Linked DNA regions of Homo sapiens: region 1 is linked to region 2. The links are contacts of gene promoters, found by promoter capture Hi-C in human tissues and cell types (Jung and others, 2019). All regions are on one chromosome and are shown on one strand. The core of a region is centred on a gene start or on the middle of the fragment in contact, and the rest is flanking DNA. Distances in the headings are between cores, read along the strand shown.

The links. Contacts are between HindIII fragments. The study calls those that stand out against the background at their distance.
Region 1: a contact is called between a fragment that was not itself captured here and the fragment with the promoter of NEDD4L in region 2, in 1 of the 25 tissues and cell types used here (mesenchymal stem cells).

The regions. Positions count from the first base shown.
Region 1 is chr18:56,738,119-56,742,963 of GRCh38, reverse strand. All of the region lies in intron 14 of WDR7 (WD repeat domain 7), which reads right to left. Among named protein-coding and RNA genes, the nearest start is that of WDR7, 89 kb to the right of the region's middle. The HindIII fragment of the contact is 4,184 bases long and covers 919-4,845 here.
Region 2 is chr18:58,041,012-58,045,675 of GRCh38, reverse strand. It overlaps NEDD4L (NEDD4 like E3 ubiquitin protein ligase), which reads right to left and starts at 1,450. Exons shown (of 31, transcript NM_001144967.3): 1 at 968-1,450. The coding sequence starts at 1,015. RefSeq lists silencers at 816-1,365, 1,386-1,755 and a cis regulatory region at 3,645-4,057. The HindIII fragment of the contact is 3,203 bases long and covers 1-3,115 here.

The sequences.
Region 1 (4,845 bases), core at 1,761-4,260, 1.3 Mb after region 2:
TTACGAAGCTAATTTTTTTTAAAGTTTGAAAGCCACTGAGATAAAAGATAAAGCTTAAGCACCTTCACATGGTGCTTTAATGGACTCGCCTCATTTCCCACCACACCTGTCTCCCCGCACGTGGTATTTCCTGCTTCCCACTTTGCTTGGGCCACCTAGTTCTCCCAGAACACACTGCAACCCATCTGCTTCCATCATCTGAATATATCTACTCATCCTTGAATGTCACCTCCTCCAAGAAGCCAGTCCTAATCACCTCAAGCTGAGACAGGCTTCCGCAATACTTTCTGCATGTCTCAGCCAACCCCGCTACTTTATTCAATTGTATTTATCTGAGTGTATTTTCTGAAGGTAAATATGTCTTATTCATTTGGTTCCCCAGGACCTAACACAGTACCTAGTAGTCAATAAATGTTTAACTGAACTTGACTGATTCAATTATTTTCTAACAGAGGCTTTAAAAGTCAAGAAGTTTGAAAACTTCTATATGATCTCATAAAGAGCAGATTTTCAAACATATTAGAAGAGAATAAATTATTTCATCTCCCAAAATACTAAATTATTAGCATTTTGCCATAAATATGTATATTTTTATAAATTACTTCACAATACCTTTGAGTTCTCAAATAAGAGTTAAAGTATTATACACAAGGGCTAGAAAGATCTGGCTGCTGAAAAGTCATAGGGTTTAATCCACCTAGCACTCCCTATTCTCTCAGCTTTCTACTATTTGATTTATGATGTGAGATAGTAAAAGAAATTTCTCCTCAGCTGTGTCTAACCTACATTCCACAATAATCTATATTTCTTCTTAATATAGTGTATTTTTGTTAATGTATTTGCAAGGAAAAACAAAACTGCTCTGAATTTAAAACCATCAAAGAACAAGACTGCTTCCCCTTGGCTCAGAATATGATGAATTATATTTAGTATGAACTCTGAATCCCATTCATAAATCCATTGAACACCTATTATATGTAACACACAGGGTCAATAAGGCACTAGAACCACAGGATTTATTAGGCTTCAGGAAGAGTTGTTCTGTTGTATATGTCATTATTTGATGGTATTATGCAATCATCACAATAAATCCAGTCATGTCTAATTCAAGGATCCTTAAAAAGGGAAAAGAGCCAAAAATCCTGTAATCACCAGAAACTTAGCAAATATGAATTAAATATTTAGTTAGTTTTGAGAATTTAGTTTTGTTCCGTAATGTAATGGTTGAGATTGCATTCATAGTAACCTAAAACTCATTTCCTTCAAACTGGAGAAGAGTTGGTGGAAAGGTACCCTGAGTTGGAAATTTTCAAAGTATCCATCCCAAACTCTCTGAAATATACACACATGATGCACACATACATTTATACATAAAGGAGCACATGCACTCACAACCCACATATAGTGTAATTTTCTACGTGTGTGAGTCCTATGACAGTGGACTTTTATTTTAATGGAGAACTTGGAGCAGATGTCAGATTTGTAGGAGCAGGAAGGGCCGATTAAATACAAAAAGATCAATCATAAGGTATTATCTGGGGGAAAGATCATAAACTAGAAGAGTGGCAGAGGCAGAGAGAAGACTGCTTTCAGAAGGAGATAAAAATGACAAAAGATTATTTTGGATTGGTTTTCAAGAGAAGATGATTCGATAACATTTAGGATTTGTAATATAGATAATGGGACAAACAGTGATGACAGTTACTAGGACAGAAAAAGTATTGGCAAACTTTTTCTGTAAAGAGCCACATAGCAAATACTTTAAACTTTGAGGGCCACAAAGCTTTATGTCACATATTCTTAATAATATTTTTAAAATATAAAAAGCATTCATAGCTCAAGGGCCCTATTGACCTGTAGGCCACAGTTTGCACCACTAGGTAGTAGAAAATAATGAGAAATGGAATGTTCTATGGGACATGATTTTGAGTTCAATCTTAGACATGTTGGCTTTAAAGTACCTTGGATAAAGCAGAGATCAAGCAAGCAGTAGGACCATCACTGGGAATACAGAAAGCAACAGAGCTTTTGAAAGTCTTGTGGGGCTAAAGAGAAAATTGAATATTCAAGGGACCAAGATCCTAGAGAGAAGGGAGGGAAAGAAAACAGAAGCTGACACAGGGCCATTCATGTTAAATGCCAAATACTGAAGCTGTGTGGGGAGACTAAGAATGTCTCTAGAAAGCAAAATGGAGTTTTTGGCAGGGTTCTCATGCTAAGAAGATAAGAAGTAGGATTCAGGACTCAACAAGCAAAAGAACCCCGTTAAATATTCTGGGCTCTCTGTTGGAAGCCCTGGAAGGACTAGAGAAGTAGAAGCAGAATCACAGATAGGCAGAGATTTAAAATACTGCAACCTAGCCTTGACTCAGGTTAGTCCCTGATTATATTAAGTTGGTCAGCCTTTATTCTATCTGAACAGCAGAGAAAGGGTGAGCCCCCTCTAGAAGAGGATATCATTTGAACAAGCTACTTTTTTTACCTACAATGTCTGGTATTTAACAAAAAATTACTACACATGCCAAGAGATTACAGCATATAACTGAAATTAGAGGCAATTAAAAGAGAGTCACCAGTGATACAGATATTAGAGTTGGCAGATAAAGATTTTAAGAAAATTAGGATTAATATGTTCAAGAAAATATAGAAAATGATGGAAAAGAAGATAAAAAGATAAAGAATTTCAGCAGATAACTGAAATCAATTTTTAAAAAAGGATCAAGTAGGTAGCCTAGAAATAAAGACAGTAATAATAATTAAAAGTATAACTCAGTAAAGGAGTTTGTGGAAAAACAGCAGAAAACAGTACTATGGAACACAGAAAATATATACATTGAAACACAGAGGGAGACAAAGATTACAAAATAGAGAGAAGAACATGAAACCTACGAAAAACAATTTTTTAAAAACGGGCAAAGGAGGCAGTCTAATTTACATGTTATTGGAGTTTCTGAAAGAGAGGTAAGAAAATAGCATCTGAAAAGATAATGGCCTCAAGAATTTTCCTGCACTAGTGAAAGACACAAACCTACAGATTCAAAAAGCTCTGGCAACTCCAAGCAGTATAAATACAAAAAAAAAAAAAAATCACATCTAGGTATGTCATATTTAAACTGCTAAAAAACAAGGGAAAAATAGAAAACCTTAATAGCAATGGGGGGATCCAAAGGAATAACAATAAGAATGATAGCTTATTCCCCCCCCCAAAAAAAGATGGAAATGAGAAGATAATGAAATCTTTACAGTGCAAAAGACCACCAACCTAAAAATCTATAATCAGCAAACATATCCTTCAAAAACAGAGAACATTTTCAGACAATCAAAAACTGAGAAAATTCAATGCCAATAAACTTGTACTAAAAGAAATGAGTAGTTCTTTCGAGGAAGAAAATGATCTTAGATGAAAACATAAAAATGTAAAGTACAAAAAGAACAGAGTTTAAATATAAGAATATTAAATAATATTGACTGAACAAAACAATAATAATGTCTAGTGGAATTTAAAGTATATGTAAAGTTACAATGCATGGCAACTAAAATGTAAAAAGAAGGGGGGGCAAATGGAGTTGTAGTGTTCTAAGGCTCTAGCACCAGCAGAGAAATTCTAATAGGAATAATTTGTTTTAGACTGTAATAAGTCAAAGATGTACTTACAATCTCTAGGGCAAAAACTAAAAGAATACTAACAGAATCTATAGCTAACAAGTATAAGAAGGGGAAAGTAAAATTTAAATATATTTGCTGAATCTGAAAGAGGCCAAGAAAAAATAGAAATAAACATAAAAACAGTGAAATGGAACTCAAACGTTAAGATGGTAGATCTAAACACTACTATATCAGTTTTCAGAGAAAAACAGAGATAGAGTAGCAGGGATTAGCAGTGGCCATAATAGTCAAGAGAAGAGCAAAGAGATAAAAGGTTTATAAAGAAGCAATTTAGAAAAAAAAAATCCAGCAGTCTAGGAAACTTGGAAAGGAAGTAAATGTGGATAATATTTTATCAACAGATAAATCTAGAACGCATTATTATAACCAATGTTTGCACTGAGTTACCAAAAAAGAGTTAACATTCAATACATCTTAATTAAAAGATAGGAATCATAATGTTTCCTATTCAAAAAGTTAAACAACACATTTTGCAAAAAAAAAAAAAAAAAAAAAAAAAGGATTTTATGCTATCTAAATGATCTGGACATTTCAGAGAATCCACAAAGTCCATATTTTAATATGCCAAATCATGGAGGCGAAATTTCCTGATTGCTATTCTTAGCTTATAAGTGCCAGGATTCAGAAAGCAATCAAAATTATGAGTGTAACTATTATGATACCCAAACATTATTCTTTCAGAGTATCATCTCTGTTATCATGTGAGAGACTGAAAATAATTTGTTTGTTTGTTTTTGTTTGAGACAGGGTCTCGCTCTGTCACCCAGGCTATAGTCCTGTGGCATGATCTCAGCTCAATGCAGCCTCAACCTCCTGGGCTCAAGCAATCCTCCCACCCCAGCCCCTAGAGCAGCTGGGACCACAGGTGTGTGCCACTAAGCCTGGCTAATTTTTGTAGAGGCAGGGTTTCACCATTGCCCAGGCTGGTCTCCAACTCCTGATTCAAACGATCCGCCTACCTCGGCCTCCCAATGTGCTAGGATTACAGGCATGAGCCACCGTGCCTGGCCAAGTTTTAAATATCTCTATATCATATAATCACCAAAGCTAATAAGAAGCATGTTAGAAGATCATGATTATTTTATTACTGGACTAATATTACTTCTAGTATCTCTCCAGAATGGAAGGGGACAAACGTTTCCTTTATTTGACTGAGAAAATGTATTTCCCCTCTTACAG
Region 2 (4,664 bases), core at 201-2,700:
TGCCTGTCACGCCGCGCCCGCGACAAGCGTCCCACCCCCCTTTTTGGCAGAGCAACATACCAATAAGAGCCGAGCGTGGCTGGTCGAGAGAGGACTAGGCAGTGATTTAGCAGGATTGTTTCAAAAGGGGGGAGTGGGAGACACGGAAGAGAGAATGAAGGTAAAAACAAAGCCCTTTCCAGTGAAACCGACCGCCTGGGAGGCGTGGCTTATTCAGTCGCTTTATTAATAAAAGAGATCAATTAAGCTTTCCTCTCCCCACCCACCCTGGAGGTGCCGGGCTTTGAATCCTCGGGAGGAAAAAATGGCAGGGCTGCAAGCTTCCTCCCCAAGTTTCCAGGAGCACCTGCCACCAGCCTTGAACACCTCCCCCACCGAGGCTCCGAAATCCACAATCCTGGCCGTAGACTTTGCAAAACGAGGGGAGGGACACACGCAGCGTGTCCCCCATTCCCGCCGGGATAAGCACGCACAGGCTTCTGAGCGCCTGCTGATCCACACAATCATGAGAGAGAAAGTTCCAGGGGGAAACGATCCGGCTTCTCCGCAGTCCCGGGTCTCCAGCCGCGCGACCCAGACGTGACATGCATCATGGACTCCCGGGCTGCAGGGGCGAGAGGCGGAAAGTTGCCCAACAGCCCCGGGAGACGCTGCTTGGAGAGGAAGAGGGAAGAGAGGCACGCATGCCCCCTCCCTCTCCTCCCGAAAGCGAGGAGCTGCGGAGTGAACCCCCAGCTCCAAGGGCGTCGCGCCGCTTTATTTACAAACAATGAGCTCGGCTTGCGGAGGGTGGGGGGTGCGGAAGGACCCAAGCTCCCCTGGATCCCGCTCCGGGGCGCTCCCGCTTTGGGGCTCCCCTGCAGACGCTGGGCACGAGCACCCCGGGGACGGCCCCTTTCCCCTCCCCCTGCCGGCGCGGGATAGGAACTCCCCGGGGAGTCCCGAGCAGGAAGGGGGTGCCACTCACCTCGTCTTCGGAAAGTCCATAGACCGGCTCCCCGAGCCCGGTCGCCATGGAGCCGGCGCCCCGCGCGGGGTCTGAGGCGCTCCCAGCGGCTGTGCTGCGGCGCGGACGGCCGGTTCTCCCCTCTGCCTCCAGGTCCCCCCGGTCCCGCACCCTACCCTGCGCACGCCCTGCCGGGTAAGCGGCCGGGCGCCGGCAGGTGAGGGTGCCCGAGAGCGCGCCCTGGACGCTGCCGGCACCGCTTCCTCCCGGAAGGCTGCGGGACCAGCGGGCGGGCGGCTCCCGAGAGCGCGCCGAGCACCGGGCGGCAGCCCCGGCGCCTCTCACTGCGCGCGGCGGCGGCGCAGACCCGGCCGGGCTTTCCCTCCCCGCGACCCGCGCCTCCCTCCCGCCCCGCCGCTCTCCGCCCCCCTCCGAGCCTCCTCTGCGCTCCCGGGGACCCGGCTCGCCCGCCTCCTCGCTAGCGCCGTCCGGGCCCCCGCTCTCTCCGCCCCCTCCTCCGCCTCCTCCCACCGGCGCCGCGAGGGTACCCTCCCCGTTCGCCGGGGCGGGCACACGCGCCCCCCAAGCCAATCACAGGCCGGGCTGGCGAGCGGGCCGCGGGCTGCGGGGGTGGCGGAGTTCAGCCCCACGCCCACCCCGGCCCGGGGCCTCCAGCGCGGCGCGGCGGGGGTCACCCGGCCGCGGGGCGGATCCGCAGGGGCGTGTACTGGCGCGCTTGGCCGGCGCCGCCGACCCTCCCTCCTCTCCCGGTTTCCCTCCGCTTTAGGGAGGGGGCGGGCTGGACGTTTGGGGGCGATAGAGGATTTTGCGAACAATAACAAAAACGCCCTGAGCGTTTCTTCCTCCCGGTGGTCTTTTTACCGAGAGCCCTGAGCTCGCTGTTAACTGTGAAAAGGGGAAAAGATGGATGTTTCTAGACCCCTTTAAATTCTTTGCGGCCCCGACGAGCAGGACTTGGCTACATTGTCAGCTCCCGGGAGCGAGCCGCCCGGCCCGGCTGCCAGCCGAGGAGAGGCTGCCCCAGTGTGGCCGCAAGTCGCCATTGCCTGTGTCAACCTTGCAGGGAACAAAACCAACATAGCGCCCGCCCCGGTTACACACCCACCCACGCGAAAACAGACAGCATGGTTCTTTGAATAAAAAGCAGTTCATTTGTGAGCCGCAACGTGAAATATCAAACTCAAGCTTAAGGTTATCCTTTGCATATGCAAATGATCGAGACGTCTTATTAGCCACCGTAGGATTCTTCCCACCACCCAGCTACCGTTTCTCTAGCAAGCAGTTCATTTAATCCTTCCGATTTATAGGACTGCAAGAGACTACTTTAAATAAGTGAAAGAAATTCGTCAGTCGACTTTTTCGGAAGCCTTTCCTTAAATTTAGATGTTAAGTGCAGTTGGGAGTTCAAAAAGAAAACAGACGCAGAACATTCCATTTGCCTTTGAAAAGGAAACGTCAAAGTGCCTACTTGGGTATTACCAGGATGCATTTAGGATTTTCATTCAAGGAAGTTCAGAGAGAACTCGCGTGACCCGAAGGAATCATATTCCTCGTTGCCAGCTACATAACTAAATATCTGCTGTTCGCCCTGCTAGTTCGTTTTCAAAAGAGCCCACCCATGCTACCTTAAGCTCTCCTTTGCCTTCCTGCAGCATGACTGGCTTAAAACCTGTGCCGTAGAATGGGTTTCCTTTGACGACTTAGCCCCATGGAGTCAACATCCTACTCAGAAGCCTTCTCTAGAAGTCTTGAGCCGTCAAGTCCACAGTACTTACAGGCCACAAAACCCCCAATGAGAACTATTTATGGAGGACTATTTAAAAGTCAGATTTCTGTCCATTCTTTCAATACTGAGGTTTTTCAACCCTTTCAAACCTCGAGTCTTTAGACCGGGCACGGTGGCTCAAACCTGTAATCCCAGCACTTTGGGAGGCTGAGGCGGGCGGATCATAAGATCGGTAGTTCAAGACCAGCTGGCCAATGTGGTGAAACTCCATCTCTACTAAAAATACAAAAATTACCCAGGCGTGGTGGCGGGCGCCTGTAATCCCAGCTACTCGGGGAGGCTGAGGCATGAGGATCCCTTGAACCTGGGAGGCGGAGGTTGCAGTGAGCCGAGACTGCGCCACTGCACTCCAGCCTGGACCACAGAGCGAGACTCCGTCTCAAAAAAAACAAAAACAAAAAAAAACAACCCTAAAGTCTTTTGATAAACAAAAGGTACACGTGCACACTCTGTCTTTCTCTCTCTCTCTCTCACACACACACACACACACACACACGCATTCTCAGATGCCCTTGCCCTAGCCTGTGACCCTCATGGATGGGAGTCAGTGCTTCTCTACCTACCCTCACTAGCCAAACCTTTGTAAAATTTGTACAGTTTATATTATAAAGGAAGAAAAGTAATTGAATAATAATGCTAGCATTTTGGGAGGCAGAGGCAGGAGGATCATTTGAGGCCAGGAGTTCGAGACCAGCCTGGGCAATATAGAGAGACCCCTGTCCCTACAAAAAAAAAAAAAAATTAAAAATTTGCCAGGTGTGGTGGCATGGGCCCATAGTCCTAGCTACTCAGGAGGCTAAGACTAGAGGTTCACTTGAGCCCAGAAGTTCAAGGTTACAGTGAGCTATGATCGTGCCATTGCACTCCAGCCTGGATGACAGAGAAAGACCCTGTGTCTCTAAATAAATAAATACATAAATAAATAATTCTTAAAATGTGCTGATAGAAAATTATAATTTCTAATTACACAGGACACGCCTTCCACATCCTGGAGGTACACAATTCCAGGCTTCGCCTTTGGGTAAGGCTATGTTATCTGGAAACTGTAGAGGGGTGTGGCAGTTTCTCTTCCTGTCTTTTATCATCTACTCCCACACACCCACCGCAACAGCCTATAGCCCTGCACTCAGGGTCATGTCCTTGTCTTTCCCTGAGGGATGGTTATTAGGAACTATAATATGAAACTTGCCATATGTCACTTATTGTGGGGTGTTTATAAAATCGTGATCCATGACATCAACATCCTCTGTGAGAAGACTAATAAACTAGACATTTATTTCAGATCTATGAAGAAAAGCTCTTTTGCTTTCAAGAAACTGGTAAGCTTTTGCATGGCAGATGACCAAAATTATTAAAACCGACTGTGTTTTTCTATCTACTTTGGCCACCAGGAAGCTCAGAACCAGTTTCATGGTCTTAAGCCATAAAAGAACCCATTAAAAAAAATCCCTTTTGTAACTATATACCAACTTTCCCCCAGTGCTGTGGTTCTCTACTCAGCATGTACATTGCAATCACCTGGGGAGCTTTCAAATAGACTAAGTGCCCGGTAACCAGCATCAGAGGCTATGATTTAATGGATTCTGACATCAGTAGTTTCAACAGCCTCCCAGGTGATGCTAATGTGCATTTAAGGCTGAGAACATCAGCTTAGTTTCCAAATTTTGCTATACATAGAAACATTTGGGAATTTTTACTACTGCTCCTCTCTGCCTCCCACTCCCAGGCGTTATGATTTAATTAGTACAGGGTGCCACATGGGCATCAGGAGCTTTAAAAGTTCCCCAGGTGATCCTAATGCACCACTGCCAAGTTTAGAGACATCTGGCCTAGATTTATATTACTATTCTTTTTTTTTTTCTTTTTCTTTTCCTTTTCCCCGAGAGACAAGTTCTTGCTCTGTTGTCCAGA